3 separate regions of the Homo sapiens genome follow, and regions 1 and 3 are each linked to region 2. Evidence: promoter capture Hi-C in 16 types of primary human blood cells and fetal thymus (Javierre and others, 2016). All regions are on one chromosome and are shown on one strand. Each heading gives the region's core, a stretch centred on a gene start or on the middle of the fragment in contact. The rest is flanking DNA. Distances are from core to core; before and after follow the strand shown.

What was found. The method cuts DNA at HindIII sites, captures the fragments that hold promoters and counts their contacts. A CHiCAGO score of 5 or more calls a contact.
Region 1: a contact is called between a fragment that was not itself captured here and the fragment with the promoter of CYB561 in region 2, in 1 of 17 cell types (endothelial precursors). The highest score is 5.4, in endothelial precursors.
Region 3: a contact is called between a fragment that was not itself captured here and the fragment with the promoter of CYB561 in region 2, in 2 of 17 cell types (endothelial precursors and erythroblasts). The highest score is 6.2, in endothelial precursors.

What each region holds. Positions count from the first base shown.
Region 1 is chr17:62,668,845-62,671,909 of GRCh38, forward strand. MRC2 (mannose receptor C-type 2) reads left to right here. Exons shown (of 30, transcript NM_006039.5): 7 at 2,805-2,993. Among named protein-coding and RNA genes, the nearest start is that of MARCHF10-AS1, 36 kb to the right of the region's middle. RefSeq lists enhancers at 615-1,374, 1,375-2,133, 2,453-2,953, 2,954-3,065. The HindIII fragment of the contact is 1,064 bases long and covers 1,069-2,132 here.
Region 2 is chr17:63,444,859-63,447,730 of GRCh38, forward strand. CYB561 (cytochrome b561) reads right to left here and starts at 1,448. Exons shown (of 6, transcript NM_001915.4): 1 at 1,387-1,448. RefSeq lists silencers at 1,145-1,704, 1,875-2,064 and enhancers at 2,034-2,847, 2,205-2,344, 2,848-2,872. The HindIII fragment of the contact is 2,186 bases long and covers 520-2,705 here.
Region 3 is chr17:62,693,176-62,696,177 of GRCh38, forward strand. MRC2 (mannose receptor C-type 2) reads left to right here. Exons shown (of 30, transcript NM_006039.5): 30 at 1-422. Among named protein-coding and RNA genes, the nearest start is that of MARCHF10-AS1, 12 kb to the right of the region's middle. RefSeq lists an enhancer at 1-88. The HindIII fragment of the contact is 1,221 bases long and covers 685-1,905 here.

The DNA.
Region 1 (3,065 bases), core at 351-2,850, 780 kb before region 2:
ACTGCTGTGTGGCCCTGGGCAAGCAGCTTAGTCTCTGGGGTGCAGAGTCCTCATTGCAAATGGAGAATGAAGCCACCCCCCTTGCAAGGTTGTTGTGAGGAAGGCTGGAGATCTGGCCTGGCACGAAGGAGTTTTTCTGTAGTTGGCTGTGGATGTTTACTGTGGTGTAGGTTGGAGGGGCTGTGCAGTTTCCTGCGAAGCTGTGGGGTGGTGAGGAGACTTTTACAAAGAAAATATGGCAACACACACACACACACACACACACACACACACACACACACAACACTAACTACAGACAGTAAAGAGTTTACAGAGCAAAACTTCTGCTCCTGACCATGGAAGTCTTGCCAATGATCGACTCAGGACTGGTTTTTTTGTTTGTTTGTTTGAGACAGGGTCTCACTCTGTCACCCAGGCTGGAGTGTAGTGGTGCGATCTTGGCTCACCACAACCTCTGCCTCCTAGGCTCAAGAGATTCTCGTGCCTCAGCCTCCTGAGTAGCTGGGATTACAGGCGGGCATCACTACTTCCCGGCTAACTTTTGTATTTTTAGTAGAGACGGGGTTTCACCATGTTGGCCAGGCTGGTCTTGAACTCCTGACCTCAGGTGATCTGCCCACCTCGGCCTCCCAAAGTGCTGGGATTACAGGCGTGAGCCACCGCACCCCGCCTTTTTATTTTTATTTTTATTTATTTATTTTTTGAAACAGAGTCTCGCTCTGTCGCCCAGGCTGGAGTGCAGTGGCACAATCTCCACTCACTGCAACCTCCGCCTCCCAGGTTCAAGCGATTCTCATCTCCAGGTTCAAGCGATTCTCATGCTCCAGCCTCCCGAGTAGCTGGGATTATAGGCATGAGTGTGCCACCACGCCCGGCTAATTTTTTTGTATTTTTAGAGATGGGGTTTCACCATGTTGCCCAGGCTGGTCTCGAACTCCTGTCTTCAAGTGATTCACCCGCCTCGGCCTCCCAAAGTGCTGGAATTACAGGCGTGAGCCACGGCTCTGGCCTGATTCAGGACTGCTGACCACTGCTTTATCTCCCATTCCGTAAGGGGCCAGGAGCAGAAGCTTGAAACGTCAGCAACCCGATCTAGGGCACCTCCACCTCTAGCTGGAGGGAGCCTTGGGCCCTAGTCCAGTCCTCCCACAAGCACCTTTCTGAAGGAAGGGGCCCGCTGGGAGGCCCGGGTGTGGGCATGCCTAGCCTATCTGTGGCCCCTTACCAAGTCCTCTGTCCTCTGGGTCTTCCCGGACCTGCAGACAGATGTAAGGCCTCGGATTTCCGCCCCTCTGCCCAGCCCATATCTCTCTGCACGAGGCATATTCTAGGCAGGTTCTGCTTTCCCGGTCTCATCACTTAAGTCCTGTCATTTCGAAGGCAGGCGCCCCGTCGTGTCCCCAAAGCATCCACATTTCCCAAGCTCCCTTCCGGTCCTTGAGGCCCCTCGGGTCTCAGCAGCCACTAAAATCCGCTTGTCTGGGGCGGCAGCCTCAGGTCTTAGCTCATTGGCTAACAAGAGATGATTGACAGGTCCTGAGCCAGAGAGCGAGCCCACCGGGCTCTCAGTCCGCCCAGCTTTGCCGGGTCTCCAGGAGCAGGTGTGGCTGGACCACTGGAATCCCAGTCTGAGGCCGTGTTCTAGTGGGCGCGCAGTTTCCTGCCCGACTAGGCAGAATCCTGCCCGAGCATGACACTGTGGGTGGTTTGGTGAAGTCCTGTTTTCTCTTGCCAAGACCAAGTAAGGGCTTGTTTGCCTCAGCTGCCCTCGGATCCCAACCCCTAGAAGGTGAACCTGAAAGGCATGGAAATCGGGGCAAGGGAGGGCCTGGGACGGGTGGATTTCTCAGCCCTGGGGTTCAGGGTTAGGAGTTAGGAGCGGGGAAGGAGTCCCAGCTGGGGGATGGGGCCGATCTGTAGTGACTTTGAGCACCTCCTAATGTTCTCGGTTGCCCGTCCACCAAGACCTCAGATTCCTGGTGGGCTTGCCTGGGCCCCATTAGTGGCTCAAGGTCCCGTTTCCCAGTTTTCTCCCTCCTGGGCTTCCCAGACCTGCACAGAGTGGGTGCTCAATAAATGTTATTTGAGAGAATAACAGTGATTCCATTTACTAGGCAGGGGGCCATAAGCCAAGCTTGAATCTCATAGCAGGAAACCCCATTTACAGAGGGAGAAACTGAGGTTCATGGGGCTGGTTTGTCCTTTCTACCCATCGTTTATTGACTGATTGATTGATGCATTGATTGAGATAAGGTCTTGCTGTGTCGCCCAGGCTGGAGTTTAGTGGTGCAATCATGGCTCACTGCAGCCTTGACCTCCCCGGGTCAAGTGATCCTCCCACCTCAGCCTCCTGAGTAGCGGGACCACAGGCGCACATCACCATGCCTGGCTAATTTTTTATTTTTTATAGAGATGGGGTCTCCCCTTTGTTGCCCAGTCTGTTCTTGAACTACTGGGCTCAAGCAATCCTCCAGCCTTAGCCTTCCAAAGTGCTGGGATTACAGGCCTGAGCCACCATGCCTGGCCCACCCATCGTATTCTGAGAGCCACAGCCAGAGGAAGTGTTCTGTCCTGGGTGGAATCTGCCACCACGACTTGGGTCTCTGTCCCGGGGCTCCAGCAGCCCTGTAAAGTTTTGTGTTTTTTTAGCATTTCCAAGACCTGTGGTGGGGACCGGGATTGATCTGGGAGAGTTTGGAGAGGAGGTGACTGGGAGGCCTCGCCTGTGTTGACGTCAACCCAGTGGGTTGGTTCCCAGACTGGGCGGCTCAGTCCCTGAGCAGCAGCCTCATGGGTCTCTGCAGACAGGTGGGCCAATGTGAAGGTGGAGTGCGAGCCGAGCTGGCAGCCCTTCCAGGGCCACTGCTACCGCCTGCAGGCCGAGAAGCGCAGCTGGCAGGAGTCCAAGAAGGCATGTCTACGGGGCGGTGGCGACCTGGTCAGCATCCACAGCATGGCGGAGCTGGAATTCATCACCAAGCAGATCAAGCAAGGTGAGGAGCTGCCCGCCCACGTGTCTGGGTGGAGGGCAGGGCCTCCCACTGCCCCACCCATCCTGTCCAGGA
Region 2 (2,872 bases), core at 198-2,697:
GGAAAAGTGGTGAGGGCAGAAAAGTAGTAGGACAAGGCTGGGCACGGTGGCTCACGTCTGTAATCCTAGCACTTTGGGATGCCAAGGCGGGCAGATCACTTGAGGTTAGGAGTTCGAGACCAGCCTGGCCAACATGGTGAAACCCCGTCTCTCCTAAAAATGCAAAAATTAGCTGCGTGTTGTGGCACACACCTGTAATCCCAGCTACTAGGGAGGCTGGAACAGGAGAATCGCTTGAACCCGGAAGATGGAGGTTGCAGTGAGCTGATATTGCCCTCTGCACTCCAGCCTCCTGGCAACAGAGCAAGACTCCATCTCAAAAAAAAAAGAAGGAAGGAAAGTAAGGAAAGCAAGAAAGCAATAAAGCAAGAAAGAAAAGGAGTGGGACAAGCAGGGTGGTTCCACCTCCAGCTCTAGGAGGCTCCCTCATGCAAGGAGGTGGGGCTGCCACCGCCTCGTATTTTCCTGCCTCCATCAAATTTCACCGGGAGAAATCCAGGCACCTAGAGGAGGTGGCAAAGCTTTTTTTTTTTTTTTTTCATTAGCTATTAAACCAAAGGGGCAGAATCTAGGCGCCCTAGATGTAACTTCATTTACGGAGTCAGAAAATCCACAAAGGCTGCCAAGGTGGAATGAATGAGAGGAGGACGACCAGAAAGGAGAAGTCTGGGAAGGGGACCCCAGATCCACACGGATGATCCTCGCTCCGTGATACAGTCGGGGACAGGGCAGGGAGGGAGGGAGGGAGGGTGGCCCTGCCATCTCCCAGGTGTCAAGGTGGCGGCAGCTCCGCCCTCAGCGCAGTTGGCACCGGCCTGACCCACCACAGGGCCACCGAGGCCACCGAAGCCATGGGGCTTTCCCACTCGGGAAACTCCCACCCTCGCGCTCAGAAGCTGGGGGCGTCGGGAGACACAGGCGGGGACCTGCGGCTCCACGTTGCAGCCCGGGCCCTGCTCGGGGCAAGAGGCGGTGGCTCCGGTTTCAGATTTCAAGAGGGCAGCCGTGGCAAAGGCTGGTTGGTCCATTTGCACCCTACCTTGCTCTAGAACGCGGCGCAGGAGCAAAGATCCAAACTCGGGGTCACCAGCAAGCGGGGGTCTCGGTTCTAACTTCAGCAGAGACCCGGCACCCGGGCAGGCCAGGGCAGGGGCCGCCTGGACCGGGAGAGGCTCGGCTCCGAGAGGGCGGGCGAGCCCTGCAGCCCTCGGGCCCAGGGTGCGGGTCGGCGCCGCAGTCCAGTGCGCGGCCGCAAGGGGCAGGTGCGAGGCCGGCTGCTACTCGGGAGCCCCGCGCTGTCCCTCCCTGCGCAGTCAGGGCTCACCTGGGCCGCCCCCGCCCCGCACCCCTGCGCGCTCCGCTCCCACCCCCAGCCCGGCCTCCTACCTTGCCTACCCGAGCGTCCCTTCAGCCTCCCCGCGCCGCGCCCGGGTCGCTTGGCCGGTTCTGCGGGCCGTGGCGCGACGGCGTCGCCATGGCAACCGGGCGGCGGGCTGGGCGGTGTCTCCGGGACCGGAAGTGGCGTACGCGGCCCCCGGGGCTGCCCCGCACGTGCCAGGTCCCCGCGGTTGCGGCCACGCTCGGGACCGGGCCCTGCCAGCTCCGGGCCCGCACGTGGGCGAACCGCGGCCACCGTGAGCCCGGCCTCGCGACCTCCCTCCGGGGCCCCCATGATCGGGGGTGCGTGGGATCTGCGGCCTGCGGGGGTGGAGGGCCGGGAGCTCCCCCGGGCCTGCCTCGAGGGCCGCGGGATTCGTCCTTGCGAGCCCCGACTGCGCACGGAAGGACCTGGGGTCGGCCAGGCCTGGGGGATGGGACGGGCCCCGAGGAGAGCGGGTGCCAGGGGCGAGACCCGCCGCCCTTCCCCGGCTTGGTCCCGCGCTTCCTGATTTTCTCGCTCCACGCCTCCCATTCTGCCCTCCACCTTCTTCCCTGCCCCGCCCTCGCCCTGCCCGGGCCCAGGAGGCCACTAGATGTCAGACCCGGTTCGGGCCTTGGCCACGCCGCCGCTCCGGGAGCCCTGGGGGCACCTCCCCAGCCCCCACGGGGGAGACGATACTGCCGGGAAGGCCCGGACTAGCCCCCGCCCCCGCAGAGTAGCCTTCGGGGAACACCGATTCCACCAGGCTCTCACGAAAGCCGAGAGCTTGCCGTCCGCAGCTTCCCCTGCCCAAAGCGCAGAGAAACGAGGGCGCCGAGGCCAAGACCAAGACCGGGAGCCAGCCCCTTCGGAGCCCGGTCCAGGCCCCCGGTCCAGGAAGTGCTGTGGGTAGATAAGGGGCCCAGCTCAGACTTCCTACAAGCTGGGAAGAAAGGGTTCTTTCCTGTCTGATGCCGGGCCAGATGTAGCAAGCGCCTAGGGGTAGGAGGGAAATGGGGTTTCCTCCCCGCAGAGGGAAACCGGCCTCCATTCAGGAACGCCCTCCCCCACCTGCCCTCCAGGCACCGAGGTTCTGGGAGGCCGGGGGGCAGGGAGACCTGCTTACTTGAATGCGCTTTGTGTATTGCCTGTGTATTGCCACAGGCAGTGGGCAAGATAGGCCCTGGGGATCCAGTACTCGCTTAGTACACAGAGAGCAGTCTCCAGCGCCAGGCGAGACGCACAGGCGTGTCAGCTGCATATGGCACACGGTGGCACATGGCACACCTTCCACGAGCAGACACAAGGGGCCGACACAGCAGGGCCCACCCCCTCAGAGGGACCAAGCTTAAACCCTCCAACAACAGAAAATTTGTAGAGTATCTTTCAGTTGGAGGAAATTAATGGATAATTTAAAGTAAGAAACAGTTTCCTTAGCGTGCTAACAGGCAGAATCCCTGTGGATTGAAGGTGGAACTGAGCCATGTCCTTTGTTTGGTCTGTGGATTTAGA
Region 3 (3,002 bases), core at 45-2,544, 750 kb before region 2:
ATCTCCTGCCGGGCGGGGGAGGGCTCTGCCCCTGGAAGAGTCCCCTGTGGGGACCAAAATAAGTTCCCTAACATCTCCAGCTCCTGGCTCTGGTTTGGAGCAAGGGGAAGGGTTGCCAGAGTCCTGGGGGCCCCAGAGGAGCAGGAGTCTGGGAGGGCCCAGAGTTCACCCTCTAGTGGATCCAGGAGGAGCAGCACCCGAGCCCTGGAGTGGCCCAGTACCCTTCCAAGAGGCCACAGTCCCAGCCAGGACAAAGTATGCGGCCCATCCTGGTGCGACAGCGTGGGACAATGTGAACATGGACTCGAAGACATGGCCCTTTCTCTGTAGTTGATTTTTTAAATGTGCCATTATTGTTTTTAAAAAAAAAGGAAAAAAGAAAAGCAAACAAATAAAACACCTTTAAGAGGCTTGAAAGAGAAGGTTCTGCCTTGTCCTGTGGTGAGCCTGCTTCTTCACGTCTGTCCCTTCGGAGATAACTGTTGTTTTGGAGCTTGCACCACAGGTGTTTTCTGCAGCTGGCCATTTTGCGTCTGTCTCTGGGCCTCTAGGGGACACTCTCACCCCCGATCTTTAGGAGCTCACCCCTCTGGGCCTGCGCCTCCCTCTCTCTGTTCCTGGGGGCTTGAATGTGGGTGAGAACTCAGGAGCCAGGCCATCTGCTGCTGAGCAGCCAGCCGTGCAAGCTTGGGCAACTTAGCACACCTCTCAACATGTGCACAGTGGGGAGAACCGGACCCACCTCCTAGGGTTGTTTTAAGGATATGTGAGGATCAAGGGAGCTCATCTGTGCAGAGCACTTAGAACAGTGCCTCTGGGCTCTGCAAGCGCTAGGCGTTACTGCCGTTTCTGGGCTGCGGCTCCAGGGGAGCACTTGATGTGTCCAGGCCGGCCCTGGGTGGGGGCTCCACATCACCGTCCTTCCAAGGCAGCCATCATACCTGCCCTCTAACAGCCTGAAAGTTCACATGTGTCCTTAGGGAGCCTGGGCTCTGAAACCACAGAAGGCAGAATGGACGGCAGGACCTTTACTCACCTGCTTGTTCATTCAGCCGGTATTTGAGCTGGAGATGCCAACAAAGGAAGGTTAACCAACGCCAATCGGGCGAGGCAGGGGGAAGCTGCTAATGTGGCCTGTGTGTCTGGGGAGGGTCTCACTAGAGGGAGTGAGATTGACTGCAGCCTGAAGGAGGTGGCGGAGTGAGCAATGCAAATATCTGGGCCAGGGCTAGGGGGGCATCCCTGGTGCTTTAGGGGACCAGCAGGGAGGCGAGGTGGGCTGAGGCTGAGATGAGTCAGGCAGGGCCAGATTGTCCAAGGCCCTGAAGGCAGTGGTAGAATGTAGCATTATTTTCAGGATAGTGGGAAGTCAATGGGAATGGCTAATCAGGCTGACCTTTTAACAAGATCATTCTGGCTAGGAGTTGAGAAATAGACAATGGATGGGAAACGGGGGAGTGAAAGCAGGAAGGCTGGTGCGGAAGCTCTTGTAATAATTCAGGCACAACAAGACGGTGGTTTGTTGGGATCAGGACTGCAGTAGTGGTCAGATTCTGTGTGTGTGTGTGTGTGTGTGTGTGTGTGTGTGCGCGCGCGTGCGTGTGTGTGTGTTTTGCCCTGTTCATGATATTTAAAATAAGTTTCCACTTTTATGAATAGACAATGCAGTCACGCAGTCTGCATTGCGTGGGATACCTAAATGATATCCCAAGATAGATGTTGCGCAAGTCCTGCCCCTGCCCGTCGCCCTCCAGCCTATACCCTCCTGCCCTGTCAGTTTCCTGTCTTTCCAGTGTTTCTTTGTGAAAGCAAATGAACGCCAGATTGGACTGAAGGGATGGCGGATGCCCTTGCTGGGGATGGGATCTGCCTGGGGAAAGGCAGTGGGAGTCAGGAAGCACTCCAAGCTTCCCGCCTGGACTGCAGGGTGAATGGGGTGCTGTTTCCTGAGACAGGAGCCCTAGGGAGAGCCCATGAGCTGCTGGCCTGAGTCCAGGACTACGGTGGAGCCCAGGGGACCCCCTCCAGCAATCCTCTCTGTGCCGCCCCAGCAACAGCAGGACCCATGGAAGGCGCCTAATCACTCAGGGGAGGGAGTCCCAGTCCTGTGGGAGGTTCACCCTGGAGTGAGTTGCTATCTAGCCCTGCAGCCCAAACAGCTCCCTTTGTGAGTTAAGTGCCCTGCCACTGCCCACAGTGAGAGGTGAAGCCAGCTGGACTTCCTAGGTTGAGTGGGGACTTGGAGAACTTTTCTTACAAGAGGTTTGTAAAATCAGTGCTCTGTAAAAATGCACCAATTGGTGCTCTGTAGCTAGCTAGAGGTTTGTAAAATGCACCAATCAGTGCTCTGTAAAAATGCACTAATCAGCACTCTGTACCTGGCTAGAGGTTTGTAAAATGGACCAATCAGCACTCTGTAAAATGGACCAATCAGCAGGACATGGGCGGGGACAAATAAGGGAATAAAAGCTGTGTCCTCCCCACCCACCCCACCCCTAGCAGCAACCCGCTCAGGTCCTCTTCCATACTGTGGAAGCTTTGTTCTTTCACTCTTCACAATAAATCTTGCTGCTGCTCCTCACTCTTTGGGTCCGTGCCACTTTTAAGAGCTGTAACACTAGGCCAGGCATGGTGGCTCACGCCTGTAATCCCAGCACTTTGGGAGGCCGAGACAGGCAGATCATGAGGTCAGGAGATCAAGACTATCCTGGCTAACATGGTGAAACCCCATCTCTATTAAAAATACAAAAAATTAACTGGGCGTGGTGACAGGCGTCTGTAGTCCCAGCTACTCGGGAGGCTGAGGCAGGAGAATGGCGTGAACCCAGGAGGCGGAGCTTGCAGTGAGCCGAGATTGTGCCACTGCACTCCAGCCTGGGCGACAGAGCGAGACTCTGTCTCAAAAACAAAAAAAAAGAGCTGTAACACTCACCGTGAAGGTCCGAGGCTTCATTCTTGAGGTCAGTGAGACCACGAACCCACTGGAAGGAACCAACTCCAGA